4 separate regions of the Homo sapiens genome follow, and regions 1, 3 and 4 are each linked to region 2. Evidence: promoter capture Hi-C in human tissues and cell types (Jung and others, 2019). All regions are on one chromosome and are shown on one strand. The core of a region is centred on a gene start or on the middle of the fragment in contact, and the rest is flanking DNA. Distances in the headings are between cores, read along the strand shown.

The links. The method cuts DNA at HindIII sites, captures the fragments that hold promoters and counts their contacts. A contact is called where the count stands out against the background at its distance.
Region 1: a contact is called between a fragment that was not itself captured here and the fragment with the promoter of SIX2 in region 2, in 2 of the 25 tissues and cell types used here (mesendoderm cells and thymus).
Region 3: a contact is called between a fragment that was not itself captured here and the fragment with the promoter of SIX2 in region 2, in 1 of the 25 tissues and cell types used here (neural progenitor cells).
Region 4: a fragment that was not itself captured here is called in contact with the fragment with the promoter of SIX2 in region 2 in 2 of the 25 tissues and cell types used here (H1 embryonic stem cells and mesendoderm cells).

What each region holds. Positions count from the first base shown.
Region 1 is chr2:45,198,070-45,200,939 of GRCh38, reverse strand. The region is part of intron 1 of LINC01121 (long intergenic non-protein coding RNA 1121); the gene reads left to right. Among named protein-coding and RNA genes, the nearest start is that of LINC01121, 55 kb to the left of the region's middle. The HindIII fragment of the contact is 4,686 bases long and covers 1-2,870 here.
Region 2 is chr2:45,007,751-45,010,802 of GRCh38, reverse strand. It overlaps SIX2 (SIX homeobox 2), which reads left to right and starts at 1,351. Exons shown (of 2, transcript NM_016932.5): 1 at 1,351-2,252. The coding sequence starts at 1,693. RefSeq lists enhancers at 279-878, 1,883-2,656. The HindIII fragment of the contact is 8,583 bases long and covers 1-3,052 here.
Region 3 is chr2:45,154,205-45,156,969 of GRCh38, reverse strand. No RefSeq gene overlaps it. Among named protein-coding and RNA genes, the nearest start is that of LINC01121, 99 kb to the left of the region's middle. The HindIII fragment of the contact is 7,800 bases long and covers 1-2,765 here.
Region 4 is chr2:44,768,868-44,771,873 of GRCh38, reverse strand. The region is part of intron 10 of CAMKMT (calmodulin-lysine N-methyltransferase); the gene reads right to left. Among named protein-coding and RNA genes, the nearest start is that of LINC01833, 170 kb to the left of the region's middle. The HindIII fragment of the contact is 4,294 bases long and covers 1-3,006 here.

The DNA.
Region 1 (2,870 bases), core at 82-2,581, 190 kb before region 2:
AGTGGGTAGAGAGAGCCTGTCCTCAGGGTATGTGTAAGTGTGCTGCAGCCCTGCTGCTGGGGGTTGGGGTTGCTATCAGAGGCAGTGCCCCCAGGCAGGTGACTGTCATGTGCTGGAGAGCATGACATTCAGCTCCCTTTGTCCTGGGGTAGCCTCCCCAGTGTGCTGCAACGTGCAGGACACTGGGTGTGCTAGAGTGTTGGTGCTCCTGTCATATTGCTGGGTCCAGCTGGAATCATGCCACTGCAGTCCTCTGGGTGGATGAAGGAGGATGTCAGTGAGGCTCTAGGGATGTGAAGACACAGGAGCTGTTGGACCCCAGGACAGGATGCAGTCTGATGGGGGCTGGGCTCTCAAAATGTTGTTGTGCTGCAGCTCTTTGGTCTTAGGGGTATATGAACTCACCCAACAGAAGATCCCTCTCTGGAGCAATGCCACTGCATGGATTCCAGGCAGCTCCATATACTGGCCTCAGGGCCTGCAATGAGTCTTTATTGAAACCCACTATGTGCCTAGTCCCAAGGGAAGCACTGTAGGAAGGAAAAAAGCAGAGGCAGGAATGGCAGGAAAGGGCCCACACTGTGGATTTCAGCCCTACACCCTGCTCATCCCTCCCTGTGCAAGCTCTCACTGAGGTGTAAGCTCTTGCCTAACTGCATTCACTGTAGCATAGCCCCTGGAGTGATACCAGTCACATGGACAACCCTTGTTTTCAGCAAGAACGAGTTATCAAGATTGAGCTAGCAAATCTTCAGGGAAGACAGCCTGGTCCTAACTTCTGTCATAACATTTTTCTTTGGTGATGAAGCATCACTGGGTTTGTTGAAAGCTCATTCAGTGTTGCTAACGCTTAAGCGCTCAGGCATCCCTCAGGTCCAAGCGGAGGATTAGGGTGGGGAGCAGCAGGCAGTTCTTGGCTAATTAGCTCAGAGGCACAGCTGTGCTGTTGAAGTCTATGCTCCCTACACTGTAACTTACAAGTAGAGTTGTATGAGAATACTGTGCATAAAACTGTAGATGCTGGAGTCAGACTGCCCTGAGTTCATTTCTAGACTCTGCCATTTGCTGGCTATGGGATCTGGGCAAGCCTGTTTTTAAGCTATTAATAAAGTAATACTTTGCTCCCTGCTTAACTTGGATAAAGTCCAATTTATCTTATTCTCTTTTGTAAATTATGTTTTTGGTTTTGTACCCAAGAAATATGGCCCAAGATGTCTTAGTCCAATTTGTGTTGCTATAACAGAATACATGAGATTTAGTAATTTATAAAGAAGAGAAATTTACTTCTTATAGTTCTTAAGTCCAAGATCAAGGCAACAACAGGTTTGGTGTCTGGTGAAGGCCTGGTTTCCACTTCCAAGATGGTGCCTTGAACACTGCATCCTCCAGAGAAAGGAACATTTTTCCTCACATGGCAGAAGAGTGGAAAAGCAAAGGGAGAGAACCTACCCACAAAGGCCCTTTTCCAGAGACATTAAACCCATCTATGAGGGTGGAGCCCTCATGGCCCAATCACCTCTTAAAGGCCCACATCCCAATACCATTACATTGGCAATAAAATTTCAATCTGAGTTTTGAAGAGAATACACATTAAAACCATAACACAAGGTCACAAACAATTTATCCTATATTTCCTTCTAGATATTGTATAGTCTAAGATTTATATTTAGGTCTATGATCTATTTTTAGTTTTGAATATGCTACAAGGTAAGGAGGGTAGAGAGAGGTTCCGTCTCTCTTTTTGCCTTTTTCCTTCCTTTCATCTTTCTTTCTTTCTTTTTTTGAGTATATGAACATGTAATTGTTCCAGTACCATTTATTGAAAAGAACATTCTTTCTTCATTGAATTGTCCCTGCACCTTTGTGGAAAGCCCATCAATAGTATATTTATGGATCTATTTTAGGACCCTCTATTCTGTTCTACTGATCTACACATCTGTTCTTCGGTCAAGAAGACTATCAACTTTGTCTTTCCTTATAAAAAATATATTGGTAATCCTAGGTCATTTGTACTTTCATATACATTTTATAATGGACTTTTAATTGGTACAAAGAGAGCCTACTAAAATTTCGCATTGAATCTATAGACAAATTTGGGGAGAACTGACATCTTGACAACATGGAGTCTTGTAATCCATGAACACAGTATATTTCTCCATATATTTATGTCTTCTTCGATTTATTTCAGCAATATTTTGTCATTTTTTAGTGTATAGGTCTTGCACATCTTTTGTTAAATTTATTCCTAAATATTTTTGTCATTCTTGTAAATTAATGGTTTTCAATTTCTTTTTCTAATTTTTTGCTGCAAATTAATAAAATATAAAATCAATTTTTATATATTCACCGTGTAACATGTGACCTTGCTAAATTCATTTGTTAGTTCTAATTGTAGTTGTGTAGATTCTTTAGAACTGTTTATACAAAAAATTATCACCTGCAAATAGACACAATTTTACTTCTATCTTTCTGATCTTTAAAAGCTTTATTTCTTTTTCTTGCCTTAGTGTAATGGCTAGGACTGATGGTACAATGTTGCATAGAAGTCATAAGAGTGGGCATCCTTGCCTTGTTTCCAAACTTGCTGGGAAACTGTTCCATATTTCATCATTAAAGATGCCCTTTATCAGGTTGAAGAAGTTCTTTTCTGTGCTAGATTGCTGAGAGTTTTTATTATGAACATATATTAAATGTGGTCAAATACTTTTTCTGCATCCATTGAAATGATTGTATGGCTTTTCTACTTTATTCTCTTAATGTGGTATATTATATTGATTAATTTTTTGAATATTAAACCAACCTTGTATTCCCAGGATAAATCTCCCTTGGTCATGATGTTTTATTCCTTTTTATATATTGTTGGATTTAAT
Region 2 (3,052 bases), core at 102-2,601:
GCTTTTCAAAACGTAGAGCAAGAACACACCCATCCTCAGTTCTCCCACCTTTGTGCGAGCCCTTCTCCCACAGGACCAGCACCACATGTTTCCATTGGCACCCTGACAAAGAAGCAAAAAACAGGACCCCCTTTTAAAGCACCTCATCCCGGAGCTCAGCGAGCCGGTTCCCAGGCTGGAGTGGCCAGGAGCCGAGCCGATCCCCAGCGGCGAAGCGGGAGGACTGGGAATCTTGCCTCCGTTCTCCTCCCCGACCACCCACCGGGGAAGCCCCACCACCGTCCTAGAGTCCCTGCCGTCGCCCCTCTCCCCCGCCCCGGTGGGCAGACTGCGGGTCTGCGCCGTCCGGGGTTCTGCGTCGCAGCTGCCGGCCGGAGTCAGCTTCCATAGAGGCCACACGGAACTGCCTGGCGCTCCTCGGGCTGTGGGACCCGTGGGGTTAAGTCTGAGTCCCCGCCCGGCGAGGAGCAGAGAGCGCAGAGTTGGGGCGGTACAGGCCGCCAGGCAGCCGGCGGGGCTAGGAGAGGGAGGAAAGGCGGGATCCTCCGGGAAGTCGATTCTCCGGCGTCCGCCTGCGGCCACTGCCAAATCTTCCCCATTTCTTTCGTCTACTCCCTCCCCTTTTCCCTCGAGGACCGCTGAGTCCAGAGTTTCTAGGATGGGGGTGGGGCGCTGTCAGCAGAAAAAGCCAAGTCTTTGGGCGGCACCCGAGCACGTCCAAACTCTCCCATCCCACTGGCCTGCGCCGGGGTAGAATGTGCCCGGTGAACAGAGAGCCTGGGAGGGACGCGGTGACCTGGGGAGAAGGGGAACCCTGTAGGGTCTGGGCGAGGCTGCAGAGCCCTCTCCTAGCCAAAGCTGCCCAAACTTTCTTCCCCTGGAGTCTCCTTCCACCCCTCTCCCTCCCCTTCCTCCTGGACACCCCCTTAAACGGTCTCCGCCTTCCCTTCTCTCCTCTTCTCTCCCCACCTCGATCCACCCCTTTTCGTCTTCGCCCGCTCCCCCCGCTCTCCTGTCCTCCTCCTCCCTCCCTCTTTGGGCATCCGCCCCGTCAATCTCCGCCGCCGCCGGCCCCAACCCGGCCCCTCTCCGCCTCCCAGGCTCTCAGAGCGCCCCAGGCTCCAGTAGAGCCGCCCTCAGTTCTGCGCGGAGCGGGGCGATCTGTCAGCGGAGCCGGCCGGGGGGAGCCGCCCGGCCCGCCGAGGCTCGGGTTACCAGTGACTGACAGCGTCTCCATGGCGAATAATTTGACTCCGACTATTGTCTGGCGCTGGCAGGCCCCGGGTCAGATAACCGGACCAATCAGGGCGCGGGCCGCCGCGCCTCATGCCCGCTTAGAATAATATTATTAAGAAAGCTGAGAGCCAGCTAGACGGGAGGGAGAACGAGTGAGAAGCGAGCGAGGGAACGGCGGGCGGGCGCGGAGCATGCGGAGCGGCGCCCCGGGCGGCCCCCGGGCTTGGGCGAGGGCTTGGGCCAGGCGCGCGGGCCGTTGGGGTTCGGAGCTTCGTGGGACCCGCGGCCGGCGCGGGGACGTACGGCAGTGACTCGGGGCTCACCGGGGGCCAGTGCCGGGCCAGGGGGCCAGCCCCGCCCGCGTCTCGGCCCGGACGGCCCGGCGAGGAAGCTCCCATGCGGGACCGCGCGGCCCGGTGAGGGCGCGCGCGGGCGGGCGGGGACGCAGCCGGCACCATGTCCATGCTGCCCACCTTCGGCTTCACGCAGGAGCAAGTGGCGTGCGTGTGCGAGGTGCTGCAGCAGGGCGGCAACATCGAGCGGCTGGGCCGCTTCCTGTGGTCGCTGCCCGCCTGCGAGCACCTTCACAAGAATGAAAGCGTGCTCAAGGCCAAGGCCGTGGTGGCCTTCCACCGCGGCAACTTCCGCGAGCTCTACAAGATCCTGGAGAGCCACCAGTTCTCGCCGCACAACCACGCCAAGCTGCAGCAGCTGTGGCTCAAGGCACACTACATCGAGGCGGAGAAGCTGCGCGGCCGACCCCTGGGCGCCGTGGGCAAATACCGCGTGCGCCGCAAATTCCCGCTGCCGCGCTCCATCTGGGACGGCGAGGAGACCAGCTACTGCTTCAAGGAAAAGAGTCGCAGCGTGCTGCGCGAGTGGTACGCGCACAACCCCTACCCTTCACCCCGCGAGAAGCGTGAGCTGGCGGAGGCCACGGGCCTCACCACCACACAGGTCAGCAACTGGTTCAAGAACCGGCGGCAGCGCGACCGGGCGGCCGAGGCCAAGGAAAGGTACGAGTAAGTAGACCTTCTTCGGCGCCAGCTCCCCGGGGCCCAAGGGAGGGGTTCGCAGGGCTTCTGCCGGTCCCCCGGAGAGGCCTAAACTGGGCCCCCAGGCCCGGCCACAGCCCAGCGGCAGCCCGGCCTGACTTGGACGATGCTTAGGCCTTTCTATGCCGGAGACCCGGCGAGCAGGGATTTGTCTAAAGCGGGCAGAGCAATTCAGGAAGTTGTCAACTAACTACTCGGTCGCTAGAGGAAAAGGGTGGAGAAGCAGAGAGCTTCGGGGCAGCGCAGAACTGTGGGCCTGTATCCCCTGTGAGGCAGGCACAGTAGGTCTGGTCATCCTCAGGACAGAGGGGTTTGAGCCCAGATGAAAGGGGATTTGCAGATTTCTTGCTGGTGGTGCTTCCCGGCATTTCCCCCCAGCCTTAGCTCCAGGCCAAAGTGTGATGGGGTCGGGACTGGGGCTGGAACTTCCCTAGAATGACCTGGATGGGGAAAAGCCAGGCCATGAATTTTCGTTGTCACATGGAGTTGAGAGCGGGTCCTTTATCTCCTTAGAAAGGATCCAGAGGTGAAAGGGAGGAAGTGTCAGTTCTGGGAGAGAAGAGACGCATGCCCTGTTTTCTGCCTTGCTAGAGATAGCCGCCCTTCCCTGGCACTCCAGGCCCTTGATGCCTCTCTCCTTAGGCCCTACCTCTGATGGGTAGGTCGGAATGTCTGCGGTGAGCTGAGAGGCACAGAGGGGCTGGGAGTTGGATGTCCTCAGGTAAACCAGGACTTCCTGAACCAGCCTAAAGGTTGATCAT
Region 3 (2,765 bases), core at 202-2,701, 150 kb before region 2:
GTGGTGGACAAGTGCATGGCCCTGACATCTGAGAGTATTGTGTCAGGGCTGATCTTCATACACCCAATATCTACAAACAGATTTGATTCAGAAAAGAACACAGGCAAAGCAACATCTGCTTATCGTCTTGATTCTCTGGAGCAGTTAATCCTTGGCTCTGAATGAAAACTGGGAAAACAGAGGCTTGGAAGCCAGATGCTACAAATGAGGAAATGCATTGCTTTGTCATTGCTGAATGAACCCCCTGTCTTTAACTCCAGCTCCCTGCATTTGGGGTAAATAATCTCACTGAGCAACTTGATTAGATCTAAGCCACGCATTTAGTTTTTCCTAAAACATTTTTGTCACAGCCGTGAAGATGTGAACGAAGCATCTACACAAGTGACTAGGTGTACACAGCCCAGCCTCACCTGATGTGACCTTCAGTCAGAGAAGCAGAAGATGCCTACAGACTGGCAAGTGCATGGAACCAGCCCCAGGCTAAACAGTGACTGCTAAAAGGCTGTTAAGTGTGCAAAGGAGCTCATCCCTAAAGGTGGGATTCCAGGCCCTGAGACAAAGTGGAATAAGGTGAGTCCAGGGAGAAAGGATTCATGGCTCATGAGGAACAAATCATTGCTTCCCTGTAGAAAATGGGCACCATAGTTCTCTTTGCTGTCACCACTGCCAGCATCTCCTTTTCCGCTCTTCTTTCCTACTCCTTGCTTGTTTCTTGTTTCCCACTCTAATTTCAAGGCCATTTTTTCTTTCTACACTTTTGCTTCCTTTTCTAGGCTTGGGGCCTGGAATTCATGGCACTTCTGGAGACATGAGGTACCTTCAGTTTCAGAAAATAAGAAGCATGTGAATCTCATCTTGGGTAGGTTTTCTTTAATTTGGTTAGGATAGTGATACTATCTTTATACAATCCCAGTAATGGAGATGCATGTATCTGAATATTTAGTGTCATGCCAACCACATGTTGAATTGTTGACAACACTTATCTCAAAGGCTCTTAAGATGACAAGGTAGTGCACCTCCAATGGAGGATCCCAGGCAATGAGACAGAACAGTGTGAGTGACATTCAGGGTAGAGGAGATATTCCAGCCCTTCTCCAGTTACACCAAATGGCCAACCATCTAGTTCAATTATGTAAAAGGCAGCCTGCATCAATGTTCATCTGCATATGAGATTTGCTTGTAAACTAAAATGACTTCTGATAAAATTAGCTTCTACAGCCAAGAGATATGGGGCCTTTAAATTTCACATTAGTAATCTTTTTTTTTTTTTCAATTGAGCATTCCTCCAGCAAAAAAGTGACCTCTTAAGCTCTTAAGGCCCCATCTGTAAGAATGAGTTGACTGGGTGACTTAGCTCCATGAACGGAGAGGTAGAGCAGCATTCATTTATTCATGCAACAAATACTTAATAAGGGGTGGCGGGGGGGGGGGGCTTTCTGGCAGAATGTGGGGAGGGGCAGGTATTACTAGCTTTATTCACACTTCAGATTGAGCCTCCTGGGCAGCAGGACCTGCTTTGCAAACACAGCCAGAGTCTCTGAGAGAGGTCTCTCTGCCTCACAGTGAAGAATTAACCTCCAGAAATCAAGAGAAGAGGAAGAGAAGAAGAGTCTATAGGCTCCGTAATGTCAGCTTGCCATTCAGAATGGTACAGCAAGCAAAGTCTTCCTTCCCTTGCTTTGCCTTCTAGAATTTGGCAGAAAAGAGCCCTCAGAAGCTCTGCATGAGCATGGCCACTTCTCTCTTGAGCAGGTCAAGCGGGAGCCCTCTGCTCTGAGGCTGCTTGGAAGGGAGTTGGAAAGGCCCTTCCAGGCTCGCCCCTCAGCCTCTCTCTAATGCTGGCTTACTCTCCTGGTCCAAGCACTGGATCAAACTCCGCTGGGAAAAGAACCAGATTAAGTCCTATGCAGGCATTAACCCTCAGTGGGACAGTGGTGAGGAAGCAGCAGCTGGTAAAAAGAAAAAGAGAGAAGGAAAGAAGAGAGAGAAAAGAAAGAAAGAAAGAGAGAGGAAGAAAGAAAGAAGGAAAGAAAGAAAAAAGAAAGAAAGGGAGAGAAAGGAACAGAGAGAGAAAGAAGAGAGAGCGAGAGAAACAAAAGAAAGGAAAGAAAGAAAGAAAAGAAAGGGAGAGAAAGAAAGAAAAGAAAGGGAGAGAAAGGAAGGGAGAGAAAGAGAGAGAAAGGAAGAGATAGCGACAGAAAGAAAAGAAAGAGAAAGAGAGAGAGAGAGAAAAGAGAGAGAGAGGAGAGAGAAAAAGGGAGAAAGAAAGAAAAGAAAGAAAAAAGAGAAAAAGAAGAAAGAAAAAGAAGAAAGAAAAAGAAAGAAGAAAAAAGAAAGAAGAAAAAAAAAAAGAAAAGAAAGAGCGAGCCAGGTATTTGGAATAAGACAACTTGGATTCAAATCTTAACACTTCTTAGTTGCATGATCTGGGACAGGTTACTTAACCTCTTGGAGAGATGGATATTTATTTCCTTCATTACTGGTGAAACGAGGAGAATGATATTGCAGGCTGATATGAGAGTTCAGAGAGAATGTTTGTTAAATACATTTTTCTGTTATAGAGCAGTTTGGTTATAGTGGCAGTCATTATTAATTGATTTTATCAGATCTTTCTTTGAGTGACAGCTGGCTGGGAGGAAGTCTGGCAGGAGGCCTGGGGAGGAGGGATGGAGGAAGGGAAGGTGAGGCCTCCCCCATGAGAGTGTGGTCCAAGGCAGGCTGGCCTGCAAGGGCTGCTGGGATCTAGAAGGCACAGGAAGCCACAG
Region 4 (3,006 bases), core at 136-2,635, 240 kb after region 2:
TGTGACAATTCTATACATTAACATGGGGATTGTTTTTGGTGGGGGTGGGTAGGGTTTTTTTCATAAATACCCAAACTGCACTTTGACCTCTATAAACTGTGAGGCACTTGACAGAAGGCAGAGCTGGGGCTCATTCATCATCACCTGACTGGGCATTTGACATAGAAGTTTCTGCTCTCTGTACCCTCTGCCTCTGACCAATGCCACACTATTCAGGCAGGCGGGCATTTCAGATCACTGCTTGGAGTCCGTGGCAACATCTGGGCACAGGGAAAGGCTTGTGGGGCCCAAGACACTGCAAAGGCTCTCCAGGTGCTTCTTAGGGGTTTTAACATTAATAATAAGTCACTCAAAAATTCTTTTCTCTGAGGAGGAGAACATACTCCAACAATTAGACTAGCAACATTCCTGTTCATACTGTGCAGGGAAGTTCTGAGGATATTTCTGTGATAAGATTTTAAAATCCAGTTAGGTTTCTCACATATGAAGTACACTTTTTCTTCATTCAGCTGGAATAGTTTTAAAGTTATATTTATATTTATTCTAGCAAATAAAAATTTGCTATTTATAAAGACAAAATTAATATTTTTGAAGTTGGAATTTATGAGCCAATTGTTAATTTCTTTTTAGATTATAAGAATAAAAAAATAAATATTTCTTTAAATTATACAGGGAGTCAATTCCTTTATTGTTTAAATTAGTCAAACACCACCCACTCCACCCACCCTAAAGCAAAATGAATGGCCTCAACATCACACTCTCCCAGGTTGGTCCCTCTGGGGCATGTTAACTTGAATCTTTTCGAAGTGCATGTTCCTTCTAAATCATATTCCCAAACCATGACATGGACATGCTGTCACTATTAAGGACAGGAGTCATGAGCCCACTTCCCCTTTTCCGCTGGGGAACATAAAGCTAATTCAGCCTTTAATTTCTAATCCACTTTCCAATCTACTTTCCCAAGAACTGATGGTGGTACAGTCACTGAGGTGACTTCATTCTGTTTTCTTAGACAGAGTTTGTTCTGTGTACAGATGATTTGTTGTCTATTTAGGAAGATCCTTGTGGATTTTTGCTGCTACCAAAGTAGCGAGAGTGTTAAGCCTAAACACAGGTCCTCCAACCTTACTATTTAGTCTAATTTTAGAAAATGCTGAGAAAATGGCTTCACCAACTTCCCAGTCCATACCCACTGACCGGGACTTACCACTGTAAATACTTTTGTTGCCAGTTGCCCTAGTGATAGAGGGAGCTCACTGAAGTATTTTACAGAGGGAAGAGAGGACCAAGCTAGCTCAATTCTTTCCTTGGGGATTGGGGATAAGGGAAAGTTGATTACTCAGTGGCAGTCAGCTGACCTACTCACTCACAATGCACTAATATACAGAGACTCAAATGAGCTCTTTATAAAGTCCCTGAGGTAATATGTGGGATAAATAATTCTTCTGTAAATATGGGTTAGAAATCACTTTTAACTTGGATTCTATGCTGACCTCTGGAGGCCAAAGTGGAGGCTTCGTTGCTGAAAGGGGCCAGGGGCCAGCCCCGTCTTGCCTGTGAGACCTTTCCACAATGGGGAAGAGCTGACAACCCTCAAAGGCAACACTATAACCCAGCCCTGGATCATTTCTGAATCAAGCAAGTCTGTTATGTGAGGGTACTTGAACACACACAAAGCTCTTAGCCAATACTTGCTTCGATGGGGGAATGTTATGAGTTTTAAGAATAATTCCATTTACCCAGGCTGTACTTCCTTGCCCAATTAATAATTACAATTTTGACAAATATCAAAAGGCACCTTGAAAGAAAATGAAGAAAAAGCAAATCATGAATAAAATAATTTTCCAATTTCAGAGGTTAAAACAGGGTCTTTGAGGACTAAACTAAATTATATAGCTGCTATTAGTAGCATTATGCTTTACTTCATAATTGGATGTAACACGCTCAGCCTTACTACGGCGTGAACAGCAGCAGCAGGAGTGGAGTTCAGACTGTTTACCCTTTACAGTATCCACAATTATCAACAGCACACCACACAGATTATAAGCACCAGCCACTTGTAATGTGGCATTTTGAATAGATAAGCAGAAGTGCAATATGGCCGTGTTTTTAACACAATGTACTGACTTCACAGCCCAGCCCAAGCCTATTTTCAGAGCTATGTACAAAAATACAGAAAAATAAACACTTCAGGGTGGTTTTGCGAAAGTTTATAAAAAAAAAACCCACGGCATGTAAAATTATATTTCAAAGAACATTTGCATGAATGAGAGTATTTTTACCAACTAGCATCAAGCCAGCTGTAATCTCGAAGTCACATCTCTACCTTACAAAACGATTTGCTATCTTACTATCCGAAAGGTTTTGAACCACACTATGAGGGCAATGAATTTGATTCTCAGCCTTGAGGAGACCAAAAGGCTGGGGAGGAGAGGGAAGTGTTTTATTTTTCTCCCCTTGCAAGGATGGACTGAAAAGCAATATTTTTAAAACATGCTACACCTTTGGCTGCCTGGTTCCTGAGCACACTGGCTGCATGGTGTGGGCACAGTTTAACAAAAGCACTGGCAGAAAAGTGCGGAATGGCACCGTTTTGATTACAGGCTTGCTTTTTAACGGAAATAAAATTTCACAGTTAACAATGAGAGGTGAAAAGTTTAAGAGGCAAAGCTGTTCCTCCTGATCACTGACTGTTAATCAGCTTCATGGGTGGTTGCCTAAATCTGTAGATTTTTTTTTTTTTTTTACCTTGCACTACTGCCAAGTAACTAATTTTTTCCCCTGTTGTAAGAGGAGGGGTGAAAAACTCGGCTTCGAAGGCAGCTGTGTATGAGTGACGCGAGGCACTAATGCAGAGGGCAAAATTAAAATTCATGAATCTCTTCACGACCATTTGTGTAACAAGATTAAGACGGGACAGCGGAAAAGAGCGGCATTATCAGGCGTCTTACAGTCCTCCAGCTGGTTACGCTCTATTCCAACACAGTAGGGCTAAGAGGATAACAC